Linked DNA regions of Homo sapiens: region 2 is linked to region 1. The links are contacts of gene promoters, found by promoter capture Hi-C in human tissues and cell types (Jung and others, 2019). All regions are on one chromosome and are shown on one strand. Each heading gives the region's core, a stretch centred on a gene start or on the middle of the fragment in contact. The rest is flanking DNA. Distances are from core to core; before and after follow the strand shown. Region 1 holds the start of MAB21L2 (mab-21 like 2). Region 2 overlaps LRBA (LPS responsive beige-like anchor protein).

Evidence for each region. Contacts are between HindIII fragments. The study calls those that stand out against the background at their distance.
Region 2: a contact is called between a fragment that was not itself captured here and the fragment with the promoter of MAB21L2 in region 1, in 1 of the 25 tissues and cell types used here (lymphoblastoid cells).

The regions. Positions count from the first base shown.
Region 1 is chr4:150,577,558-150,584,265 of GRCh38, forward strand. It overlaps MAB21L2 (mab-21 like 2), which reads left to right and starts at 4,594. Exons shown (of 1, transcript NM_006439.5): 1 at 4,594-6,708. The coding sequence starts at 5,473. The coding sequence ends at 6,552. All of the region lies in intron 40 of LRBA (LPS responsive beige-like anchor protein), which reads right to left. It overlaps LRBA-AS1 (LRBA antisense RNA 1), which reads left to right and starts at 1,532. Exons shown (of 2, transcript NR_149035.1): 1 at 1,532-1,798; 2 at 2,047-3,677. The HindIII fragment of the contact is 7,167 bases long and covers 254-6,708 here.
Region 2 is chr4:150,737,697-150,744,007 of GRCh38, forward strand. All of the region lies in intron 35 of LRBA (LPS responsive beige-like anchor protein), which reads right to left. Among named protein-coding and RNA genes, the nearest start is that of MAB21L2, 160 kb to the left of the region's middle. The HindIII fragment of the contact is 3,953 bases long and covers 2,215-6,167 here.

The DNA of each region.
Region 1 (6,708 bases), core at 3,344-5,843:
TCCAAAAAGTATAAATCCTCCAGAAATGCTTTCTTTTCTTAAGTCAATAATCTGATTATTTTTTGAAAGCTTCTAAAATATTTCCTGGAAAATAAGATCATGTATTCTAAAATTTGTTTACTCTTTAGTAAAGATTATTGAGATACAATATATTATTTTTACAGATAATAAAATAATAGATACCTTTTAAGTCTCGTTAACATGATAAAGTAACAAATGCACTGACGTTAACTCAGTAAATACATTTTTAAGTAAAGATCAGCAAAAAATAAAACAGTTTAAGAATTTTGTATTCTCTGGAAACATAAACAGGATTATAACTGTCAGATTACAGAAGCACTGACTTCAGCCATTAGTTTGGTTTGGCTCCTGAGAAACACAACATGAACTACTGCATCATTTCTTTTCAAATCCATACATTCCCTGCAGCCGTTCAAGCTTCATCAGCAGTGCAGGAATGTATAAAAATGACAGGCAAAGGGCATTAGGTTTTTTTACTTCCATACTGTTTTCCTATAAATGGAAGACAGGATTCTTTCTCAAAGCACTTAAGCTCAAGCTCAGTCAATGCTGAAGGAAAAATACAACTGAATTCTCTATGCAAGAAAGTATCACAATTGGATTATTTACTACTTTTCAAGGACATGTTGATAAATCTAATACTGTATTATTATCTTAGAATAAAACATTGTAAGGTTAGCATTCTAGCTTAATTACCCATTATTCTTCAATTAGAAATATTTTCACTTTTTAAAGTACTCTGTCAACTCATCACCTTATTTTAACACCAAGTATTCAGTTTTGCTTCTAATTTTAATTATAAAAATTTCCTTAAAATATGCCAATTTTTTTTGAAAATATATTTGTATAAATAGTTAATTTTTTATTTCCAAGTTTCTGTACTCATAAAGGTTTCGGTGAAATAGGAAATTCCATTAATAATTAAAAGTTTATTTAACCATGATAAGTAAAAATAGGATGTAATGAGTAATCTGGTTATTTGACTGGACCTTAAACATTCACATTGCTATAAAACTAGTACCGTAATTACTACAACCTGACTCAATTTTTTGAAGAAACTGGGAAATTTTCAGACTAAAGTTTTAAACATCCTCATATTTTAGTTTATAGTAACTAAAAACATGCCCACTTCAGTACTATCACCTACATTCTTTATGTTCCTAATGTAATGATGCAAGAGGTAAAGCCTAGAGAAGTCTGAAGGTTACGGACTACCTGATATCCAAAACAAAAAATTCAGATCACACCCTGAATGTCCTCCTTCCCTTTTTAGGAATGTCCTGCAGCTAGCCCAGCACCACAGCTCTGGGCTGAAGCATGCCAATGTTGGCACTGCCTAAGCCAAACAAACAAGATGTTTAACAGTCAAATAAAATGTCCTGCAGCCTCCCTAATGAATTTGTCAAGGACCATCAGATTTCGCACCCCCTCCTTTGCCTCATTAACTCAAGTATGATGAGACGGATTATAACAAGAGAATACAGATGAATCGGTCTGAAGACTTGAAGTGGCTTTTAGCCTCTAGAGTTTCTTTCTCTCACTTGGTCTCCTTTAATAGAATATAGTATCTCCTGCAGAAGGAGCTGCCAGTTCGTTTTAATACACCATCAAGGAGCTGCTGATGGACTTCTATACTAACATACATAAAAGCAGAGGTGACAGGGGCTCTTCAATTACAGCCTCCTCGGATACCGTTTCCCCCTTCAATTATTCAACCAGAGGAAGAGAGGACCGCAAAGGCGCAGCTGAAGCTGCTCTTAGAGCAGAGGCAGCCAGAGTGAGTTGGGGTGGGGGAGGGGGGAGAAAGAGAACCAGCAAGAGGGAGCATTATTTGCTGGAAGTGTTTAAGTTTATTGCTCGAATGATGTTTCTAATTAGTACCACGGCCATAAATTAAAGTCGCCTTTGTTTAACTGATTTATTATTTACTAGAGCATCTACCTAAGACAGGGTAAATTGGTAATGAATTGTTTTTAAATCAAAACATTTGTAACGTTTTATCATCCTTCCCTCTGTATGTAAAAGTGGAGAAGCGTAGGGGCAAGGATGCGAGAAAACTTAGCCGAGCTTGACAGAGCCGCCAGTGGAGGTGCAGCGGAGTGTCCGGCGAGTGGTGGCGCGAAGGTCCGCTCGGCCTGGGACGCCCCACCCGAGAGAAGAGGAGAAGGCGCAGGACTTGCGGCGCGGCGGCGGAGCCATGCGAACCAACTCCGCCACCCCTGAGGCTGTTTGCAAACACTCACTCTCGGGAGCGTCGCGGGCCGGGCCATTCGCGAACCAGACGCAACGACGAAGCGACCACCTCGAGAGTGGGGCGGGAAAGCTCCGCACCCTCTATCCCCGCCACCAGTCTCCGCCCAGTAACTGCCCCCGGAGAAGCAACCACGGAGCCCCTCCCGGCCAGTCGCGCTCTCCCGGCAGCGCAGTGCCCTCCGGCCCAGGCAGTTCCCAGAGCGCCGGCAAGGCCTCCCGGGTTAGAGCCGGGCTCCCACAGGCGCGAACTCCGAGGGCGCGAGGTCCCCTAGATCCTTAGGCGGCGAGGCGTTCCGGGACGCACGCGGCCTCCCCGGAGAAGGCTGGAGGTCAAGCAGCCCAAGTCTCTGCCACTCCAGAGAAGTTAACTAAAGCTCTGGAGTCCAAGAGTCGCGCGGACACTTAATTCTGACTCTTCTTCCTAATCGCGGGAAGACAAACCCTAAGCAACAAATCCGAGATAGTTTTTTTTTAAGCAAATATTCCTTAGAAAGGGACTTATGGCAACGAGAGAGGAAGGGTGACAAACTGCCTGTGGTCCGCACCAGGTATGTAAGAAAGAACCAAGAGGCCCAATTGTCTGATACCAAGTAGATAGAAAGAAATTAACTTCCCTATGCAATTCAATTCAGGTTCACCCGGCCGGACTTTAAGAGGGTAAGTCAAGCCCTCCCAAGGGGTTTTGAAAAAGCCGAACTACCAGGTTTCTAAAACGAAGTCTTCACCCAAATGGACGCATAGATTTTTATTTTTATCGCATAACCCAGGGCTGGAATATAACCTCCCAAATCAAACTAAAAATAATCACATCTACCTGAAATACGTTAAAAAGATTCAGAATCCAGACATCTTAGGTTCATACATAAACCCTCAGTATCAAGCAAATCAGAAACAATGTTCTAGCTTTTTTTTTCACCCAAAAGTATGGAAAGGCTACAGTGGGTACAACTCGTTTAGGATAATACATATACTAAAAGCACATGCATGCCTTTCATTGAAATGCCTAGGGAGGAGTGAAGCCATCTGTGTAATCAATAACAGGATAGTTATAGATTTTTGTGGCAGTGAAGTCTTTTAAAAGCAAGAGTCAATTATGAAAATAAAATCATTTTACAAATGAAACTCTGTACCTGTACCCCCTAAGAATACATTCACAATTAGATTTACAACAGTAAGATTTTAAGAAAACTTTAGGTTTACATTTACTTGCCTTGTTTTTCATTAAGTTTGAAGCAATTTTAGTAGCTTATTTTAAAAGTATATCCTACTAAGTTCTACGACATGTAAGTTTGCACCATTTCTCACAACTTAGATATTTTCTCTCTCGTAACTAGTTAATTCTTGTAACGATAAAATAATGGTATTAAATACATGTGAATCTTAATTATGAAATAATTATCAAACAAGGTGCTTGGACTAGTTTTTGCCCTGCCCTGTTTTTAAACAGCATATCGAAATTACTAAAAAGAGATTTATAAACCCTCACCTTATATCCACTCCAACCCTCACTGGTGCACATATACAGCAACTGCTCTGATTCTTGGCAACAATGGGAGGGGAGGGGAAGAGAAAGGAGGATGACTTTAAAGGAGGAAAAAACCTGGAAAAATTAGGTCCTTTCCCAGATTCCCCTTTCGCTTCCCATTTGCCTTCAAGCCAAAGTAATTTTGTTACAGTTTGCACCTTCTACTACACAATGTTGATAGAATCATTTAAAAAAAAAAAAAGTGAACCTTTCTGAACCATTGCTACTCTCCCTCGCGTTATTCCAGCCATCTCCAGGAGAGTCCCTTCTATATAAACTCTTTTTCTTCTTTGCTACTGATAAGAGAGGAGGATAAAGAGGAACGGCTGTAAAATGTGTGCAAGCATTTGACTCCCATTATCTCCTCCTATTTTCTTACTTCTCTCTTTACCCTGTTTCTTTATCAAGTGCAGTGGTGGCTGCTACCGTTCGCCAAGCGTGCCTGTCTTCTCTCTCGGATTGGCTAAAGCACTGACAGCTCGGATAGCGATTGTAGGAACTGAAGCTCCACCCCCTCATGATGGCCCTGGGACCATTCATAAACTAAATAACTCCAGGAAACAGCGAGGGAGAGAGAGAAAGAAAGAGAGAGGGAGAGAGAGAGACAGAGAGAGTTAGAGGAAAGAAGAGAGAGCGAGCACGAGGAAGGGGGGCGGGGGAGAGAAGCAGGGGGAGAGCGGGGCGAGAAAGAGGTCGGAGGGGAGAGGAGGGGGAGAGACGACTCAGAAAGTGGAATCTGTAAAAGCAAGCTAGAGGAGAAGAAGGAAAACCCTGAATCGTTATAACTACACCCCAGATGCAACGCAAGCAACGACTTCGTCACACTAAAACGGATTTTGTGAGGGCCAAAAGTATAAATTACGAAGCAGAAATGATTATCAAACAACTTCCAGCGGTTTGCACCTAAAGAAACACAAGGAGAACCCACTACAAACAAACAAACCCAGTCCAAACAACGCCTCCAGTAGGAAAAGAGGAAAACTGCGATAACACGACCCCCCGAGAAGAGACGAGACCAACACGCTGAGACTGTGGGGCGTCAGCAAACCTCCAAGTGCACGGCGGACTGAGTTGTACTTCGCAGCTCTCTGGACATTAATTACCTCCTGCACCTTCCATTTGGGGGAGGGTGAGGAAGAAGGCACTCACCTACACTGAGCGAAGAAGTCCTATCAGCGTGGAAGAGAAGTTTAAGAATGAACCACTGAATGTTTCGCTTTTATTTTTAAATTTACTTTGGCACTTAAAAAACCTCATTTCCAGATTTCTGGACAATCTCGGCTGCAGACATCTAAGCCTAACCTTTTGGTATCCTGAGTTTTTTCCCTCTCCTTCTCCTTCCTCACGCCCACCCCGCTTCTCTCGCACACGGTCATCTTTACATATCAAGAGAAAGCAAAAAGGTTCCAAGAGGTACTTTTCTTTTTAGAAAATCACCTTTTCTCCCCTAATTCTTCTGCAGAAGAAAAGAGGTTTCGAAAGAGGGAAAAGGAAAAAACAAGCCGGCTACGGTATCAGCCGGTCAGCCCAGGTGGAAAACGAGAGTGAAAGTAGGGCTTAACGGGGAGCGCACCGCCTCTTTCGAAAGCCGCTGGGCCACCACCAGTGCGTGAGCCTTGGATCCCTCAACGTATTGCGAGACGCCGGTGTATAGCCCGGACCTGTGCCCCAACATGATCGCCGCTCAGGCCAAGCTGGTTTACCAGCTCAATAAGTACTACACTGAGCGCTGTCAGGCGCGCAAGGCGGCCATCGCCAAAACCATCCGAGAGGTCTGTAAGGTGGTCTCGGACGTGCTCAAGGAAGTGGAGGTGCAGGAGCCTCGCTTCATCAGCTCCTTGAGCGAGATCGATGCCCGCTACGAGGGGCTCGAGGTCATTTCGCCCACCGAATTTGAGGTGGTGCTCTACCTAAACCAGATGGGCGTCTTCAACTTCGTGGACGACGGCTCGCTGCCCGGCTGCGCAGTGCTCAAACTGAGCGATGGGCGGAAGCGGAGCATGTCTCTCTGGGTCGAGTTCATCACGGCGTCGGGCTATCTCTCAGCGCGTAAGATCCGCTCGCGTTTCCAGACGCTGGTGGCCCAGGCGGTGGACAAGTGCAGCTATCGGGATGTGGTCAAGATGATCGCGGACACCAGCGAGGTCAAGTTGCGCATCAGGGAGCGCTATGTGGTGCAAATCACTCCGGCGTTCAAGTGCACCGGGATCTGGCCTCGCAGCGCGGCACAGTGGCCTATGCCCCACATCCCTTGGCCCGGCCCCAATCGGGTGGCCGAGGTCAAGGCCGAAGGGTTCAACTTGCTCTCGAAGGAGTGCTACTCGCTGACCGGCAAGCAGAGCTCGGCAGAGAGCGACGCCTGGGTGCTACAGTTCGGGGAGGCGGAGAACCGCCTGCTGATGGGCGGCTGCCGAAACAAGTGCCTCTCAGTGCTGAAGACTCTGCGGGACCGCCACCTGGAGCTACCCGGCCAGCCGCTCAACAACTACCACATGAAGACGCTGCTGCTGTACGAGTGCGAGAAACACCCACGAGAAACGGACTGGGACGAGTCGTGCCTGGGCGACCGGCTCAACGGCATCCTGCTGCAGCTCATCTCCTGCCTGCAGTGCCGCCGCTGCCCTCACTACTTTCTGCCCAACCTCGACCTCTTTCAGGGCAAGCCCCATTCGGCCCTGGAGAGCGCTGCCAAGCAGACCTGGAGGTTGGCCAGGGAAATTCTCACCAATCCCAAAAGCCTGGACAAACTATAGGGTGCTGGGGACTGCTTGAAAAGCGACACAAACGGGCGTGCTCTCTCAGACACACAACTCTGCTATAAACAGCAGAAACTCTGGACACAAACTTTTATGTAAGTCACCTGAAATAGGAATCCGGCAGAAGACCTTCATTAATTAAGAAGCAAACAA
Region 2 (6,311 bases), core at 2,941-5,440, 160 kb after region 1:
AGAATTTAGCTTTCATCAATCCCTTCCCAGGGAGTTTTGCAACCAAGGAAGATTGACTATTGTCAGTAAAGATGAGAAGTTAGTACCAGGATGAGAAATTATCTAAATAGACATTGATACAAAACTATAATATCACTTAACTATTCTCCTAAGGGCCCACTTACTGTTCACAAAATCATTAGCTTTCCCAAATGTGCCCTTCATTACTTCACTTTTACCCTATTAAAATGGTATGTATATAACCCCAAATTCTAACCCCCTCCTCAAGTCACATTTTTCTCTGAATCTTTTTTTTTTTTTTTTTTTTTTTTCTGAGACGAAGTTTCGCTCTGTCGCCCAGGCTGGGTATAATGGCACAATCTCGGGTCACTGCAACCTCTGCCTCCTGGGTTCAAGCGATTCTCCTGCCTCAACCTCCTGAGTAGCTGGGATTACAAGTATTCACAATCATGCCAGGCTAATTTTTGTATTTTTAGTAGAGACGGGGTTTCACCATGTTAGCCAGGGTGGTCTTGAACTCCTGACCTCAGGTGATCCGCCCGCCTTGGCCTCCCAAAGTGCTGGGATTTCAGGTGTGAGACACAGCAGCCGGCCGAATTCTGACAGACTTATGACTAAAAATAGGTCTTTTTTCTTGCTAAGCTGTGTTTGTCTGTTTAATTCACAGGTCCCCAAACAACAAACCTAAGAGGGTAGAGGAAAACTTTTCCTCATCATCAAAAGCAAAATAAGAACATTCCATGACAAATAAAATAGTGAGAATTTGTCACCAGCCAACCAACATACTTCACAAGGATGAAAAATAATATAAGATTGATACAAGTCAAGGAAAACAATTGGAGCAATGAAAATGACAAACGTGGGTAAATCTAAAAGTATACTGAATGTTTACAATAATTATGTAACTTCTAGAATTAAAAAATACTGCAATCTAAAATATATAACCACAGCATACAAGGCAAGAGAAACCAACTGAATTAGTGTTATAAGTTTCTTGTGTCATACATCAATTGGCAAAAGAATCAGTTTATGTAAGATGTTAATTATAATATTCATACTACAATCTCTGGGTAACCACTAAAGTTATTTAAAATAATATATAACCAACAAGCCAATGGGAAAAAAATTAAGCAACAAATACTTAGCTCAGAAGAAGGAAAAAAAAAAGAAACACAAGATGTGGAGCAAATATAAAGGACATAAATAATAAGATGATAAATTTTAACCTAAACATATCAGAAATACATAGAAAGTAAACATTTAGTAGTAAAATTATTGTCAAATCAATTTTTTAAGGCATATGATGCTTGTAAGTGACACAATTTCAATATAAGGTTAAACAAAGATTGAAAAGTATAATTTCAGAAAACATGAACAATTTTTAAAAGCTAAAAGGTAATAAACTTTTTTTAGTATGAGAAGCAAACAGAAATAAAATAAACCTGTTAAATTAATAAAAGGATAAATGAACTAGAGATACAGAAATTTAGTATTTTGAGATTCTAAATTTGTATGCTCTTAAGAATATGGCCTACTACCAGATATAGAATATATAAAGCTATAGAATATTTTTTAACCTGACCTGACTGACATATCGAGAACATTATACCCAGTAAGTGAATAATAAATATTATTTTCAGGTAAACATGGAACATATTAAAAAAAACAGGCAAAATGCGGGGTCACAAAGCAATTTACAGTGAATTTCAAATGATGGAATCATACTCAGTATGTTCTTTGATACATTTCAATTAAACTAGAAATAACAGGATACAGATCACTCTGCAAGAAGCTCTAAGCTGACCACTGACTTTCCTAACCTCCTGGTATCCACAGCATTATGTAATCTTCCCCTTTAGAGTGTAAGAAGGAGATGGGGCTTGCCTCGAAGCAAGAAAATATGGCAACAATGAAGGAATAACACTTCAATAATTACATTAAATAAGATGGTAACTTGCATCTTGCTAGCAGACTCTATTGACGCTCTCCCTTAATGGCTTAGCTAAAGAAAGCTGTCATGTTATGAGCTGCCCTGTGTAAAGGCCTCCATGGCAAGGAGCTGAGTAGAGCCCCAGACAACAGCCCGCAAAGAATTCAGACTCTCAGTCTAACGACTCAAAAGGAAGTGAATCCTGCCAACAATCACATGATCATGGAAGCAGATCCTTTCCTAGTCAAACATCAAATAAGACTGCAACTCTGGCCAGCACCTCAATTGCAGCCTTGTAAGTGAACCTGAAGGAGAGGCCCAGCTAAGCCATGCCTAGGATTCCTGACCAAGAAAAATTGAGATAACAAATGTATGTTTCTTTAAGGCTAAGTTGTGATAATATTGTTAACACAGCAGTCGCTAAGTAATATCATTTCATGTCTAAAAATTAAAGAATGCACCTCTGAAAAAAACGCACACATAAAAGAATACATCATAATGGAAATTAGGAAACGTTTGCAGTAAAACATAGTAAAAACAATGTGCCAAAATCTGTGGATTTAGATAAACCTTAAACCAATGCTTAGAGGGAAATTGATACACTGAATAAAAACACTAAAGAAGAAAAAAATTGTCAAAATAAATTATGCAAGTATTGAACTGAAGAAATCAGAAAAAGAACAGCCAGTGAACACTGAAAGTTAAATAAGGATAAGAACAGAAATTAAATAGAAAATAAAAAATACACTTTAGAAGATAAAGTTAACAGTTAGTTATTTGAAATACTGAAAAAATCCAAAAGAAAAATGTAAACAATTAAAAGTAATAATTGAATTTAGGAGGGTCACTGGATTTAAGGCAAATACACAAAAATCAACTAGATTATATGTATAGGTTACTAACAAAGTAAAAATGGTTTTTAAATACTATTTTGAAAAGCATTCAAAACCATCAAAATATGTAGGAAAAAGAAACAAAAATGTGCTAGAATTCTGCATGTCAAACAGAAAGAATGGTAAAAAAAAAAAAAAAAGTTAAAACTTAAAGAAAAAAGTATACCATGTTCATGAAAGGGAAAGGCTTGTATTAAAGATATCAATTCTCCACAAAGCTATTTATAGATACAGTCCAATCAAAATCCTAGCAGGTCTTTCTGCATAATCTGATGAGTTCAAATTTAATTCTAAAATCTATAGAAAATGTAAACAAACAAGAATACATGAGACATTCTTAAAGAGGGGAAGAGAGATGATAATAATGATAATGATATTAAAAGACTTATAAGTAAGATGGTCTTTTCCAAAAACTGGTCTTAGATCAATCAACTGATGCTCATATGGACAAATTAACCCTGACTTCTACCTCAAACCATACAAACAAACCAATTCCAAATGAATCCTAGACAAGACCTAAAGATTTCAGGAAGTTTAAAAAGTTTCTAGAAGATTACATAAGAGAGCATCTTCCTGACTGGGTCGATGTAAAGACTTACTGCACCAAACAAAAATACACAAAACATAAGAAAAATAGTGACAAAATGAACTACATCAAAATTTAAAGACTTGTGCTTATGAAAGCCACCACTAAGAGAATTAAAAGCCAAACTTCAGAGAGAGAGAATATACTTGGAAAAATTACAACCAACGAGGAACTGCTATCTTAAATATATTAAAAAGCCTCTTACAAATAAAAGAAAATGATCACAATTTTTAAAATGGGAAAAGTACACAAGCACTTCACAAAAGAAGATTTCCAAATGGTGAATAAGATTATGAAAAGTTGTTCAGGATTACTAGTCATCAAGGAAATAAAACTTAAAACCATAAGATATACTATACTCCACAGAATGGCTATATATGTTTAAAAGGCTGGCATCACCAAGTTATATCAAAGATGTGAAGTAACAGGGACTCTTATAATCACAAAATCGATTAATAAAAATGTTCATGGCAATTATTTACAATAGCCAAACACTAGCAACTACCCAAATGTCCATTAAAAATAAAACTAATTTTTAAAATGTTGGACTTTCATAAAGTAAAATGCTAAGTAGGAAAAAAAAGAATCAATATTATGCATAACAATATGAATTTCACTAACAATATGAATTTCACTAACAATATTGAGCAAAAGCACACAAAAAATATAAAATGTATGAATTGCCTTGTATAAAGATAAAAATTTTTAAAAACAAAACTATGGTATTAGAAGTTAAGAGATTAAGAAATGGTAACCTTCAGTGCTACCTCTCCATATGAGGACTCACACGGAACACTGATAATGGCCACGGAGTTCTAAATATTTTAATAAAATGTCTTAGATGTATAAACAAACGACCCATTCTGATTAGCGCTTTTATAACACCATTTACTTATAAACATATCAACAGAATGATTCACTTTATGTAATCTGGAACATTTTTGATATGTATAGGTCTTCTAAACTTCCTTCTTTAATAGGAGTTGAGAACATAGAGCGGGCAGGGATAGAATTATTATTATTATCATTATTATTATTATTATTATTTTTTTTTTTTAGGGACAGAGTCTCGCTCTGTCACCCAGGCTGGAGTGCAGTGGTGCAATTATGGCTCACAGAAACCTCAACCTCCCAAGCTCAAGTGATCTGCCTACCTCAGCCTGCTGAGTAGCTGGGACTATATACATGTGCCATCGTACCCTGTAAGTTATTTTGGTGGTGTTGTAGAGACAGGGTCTCACTATGTTGCCTATATTGGTCTCAAACTCCTGAGCTCAAGTGATCCTCCTGCCTTAGCTTCCCAAAGTGCTGAAATTATGGGCATGAACATACATGGCCTGCAAGGATTATTTTTTTAAATTTATATAACAAAAGTGGCTAAACTGCCACTAGAAAATGCCCACCTACAAAAGTTACACCTAGCAGTCATCAACAATGACATGAACTTACTCCCATTCCACAGGGCACTTGCCTCACTTTGTAGCAATGTTTTCATTTAAAATATAAATAAGGCCAGGTACAGTGGCTCATGCCTACAATCCCAGCACGTAGAAAAGAGACTCCTTGAGCCCCAGGAGTTTGAGACAAGCCTGGGTAAAATAAAGAGACTTCTTCTCTACAAAAAAACACCAAAAACAACAAAATTAGCTGAGCATGGTGGTACACATCTGTAGTCTCAGCTACTCAAAAGGCCAAGGCAGGAGAATCACCTAAGCCCAGGAGGTAGAGGCTACAGTGAACCATGATGGCATCACTGCACTGCAGCCAGGGCGACAAAGTAAGAACCTGTCTCAAAACAAAAAACAAAACAAAAACAAAAAAAGAGCAAACATAAACTTGGATCCAAAGCAATTGTCACAAAAATTGTTTTTATTTTTTTGGAGATAGAGTCTCACTCTGTTGCCCAGGCTAGAGTACAGTGACAGGATCTCAGCTCACTGCAACCTCCGCTCCCTGGGTACAAGTGATTATCATGTCTCAGCCTCCCAAGTAGCTGGAATTACAGGTACATGAGTCACCACCCCCGGCTAATTTTTGTATTTTTAGTAGAGGTGGGGTTTCACCATGTTGGCCAGGCTGGTCTTGAATTCCTGACCTAAAGTGATCCACTTGCTTTGGCCTTCCAGGGTGCTGGGATTACAGGCGTGAGCCACCGCGCCTGGCCAGCAGTCTTAATAATGCGCTATATGAACATGTTCCCACAATGCAGAAAAACATGTGGAAAATATTCCTCATGAATCAATTAATTTCACTACAACACTATTTATGAAAGTGAGAATCTTAAAGAATCAAAATATACAATCATATAAGTAGATTGTTCCAAATTGACAAAATAATGTCCACAATATACATTAAGAGGAAAAATAAACCTGAGGAATATTATGAACAATATGAGCTTGGGGAACATATAAAAGAAAATACACTTTCTTTTAATTGCCAATAATCTAGAACAGGGGTCAGCAAATTAAGGCCTGTGTGCCAAATCTAGCCTGCCAACATTTTTTGGTTAGTAAGTTCTATAAGAGCACAACTAGGCCCATTTGTTTAAGTGTTATCCATGGCTGTTTTCAACTCACCATACTACACTGAGTTGACCAGTTGTGAAAAAGACCATGTGTACTGCAAGGCCTAAAGAACTATCTGGCCTTTTACAGAAAAAGCATGCACATGTCTGGGCTAGTGAGTGAGGCTTAAGTCCTCCTCCTTACATGTCTCTGTTCTTTGAAGCTTTACAACAATCAATAATCAAAAGAAAGGAAAACAGAAAATCCTTAAAGAAAATAAAAAAGCTTTCTGCCATTCTATCACTTTGTTTCGATCTCTATTAGGCTCACATACACTATTTTAATTTGACTCCAGCTCTGTCAGACTCTCTCTTCTATCCCCAAACTGTCTTCCAGCT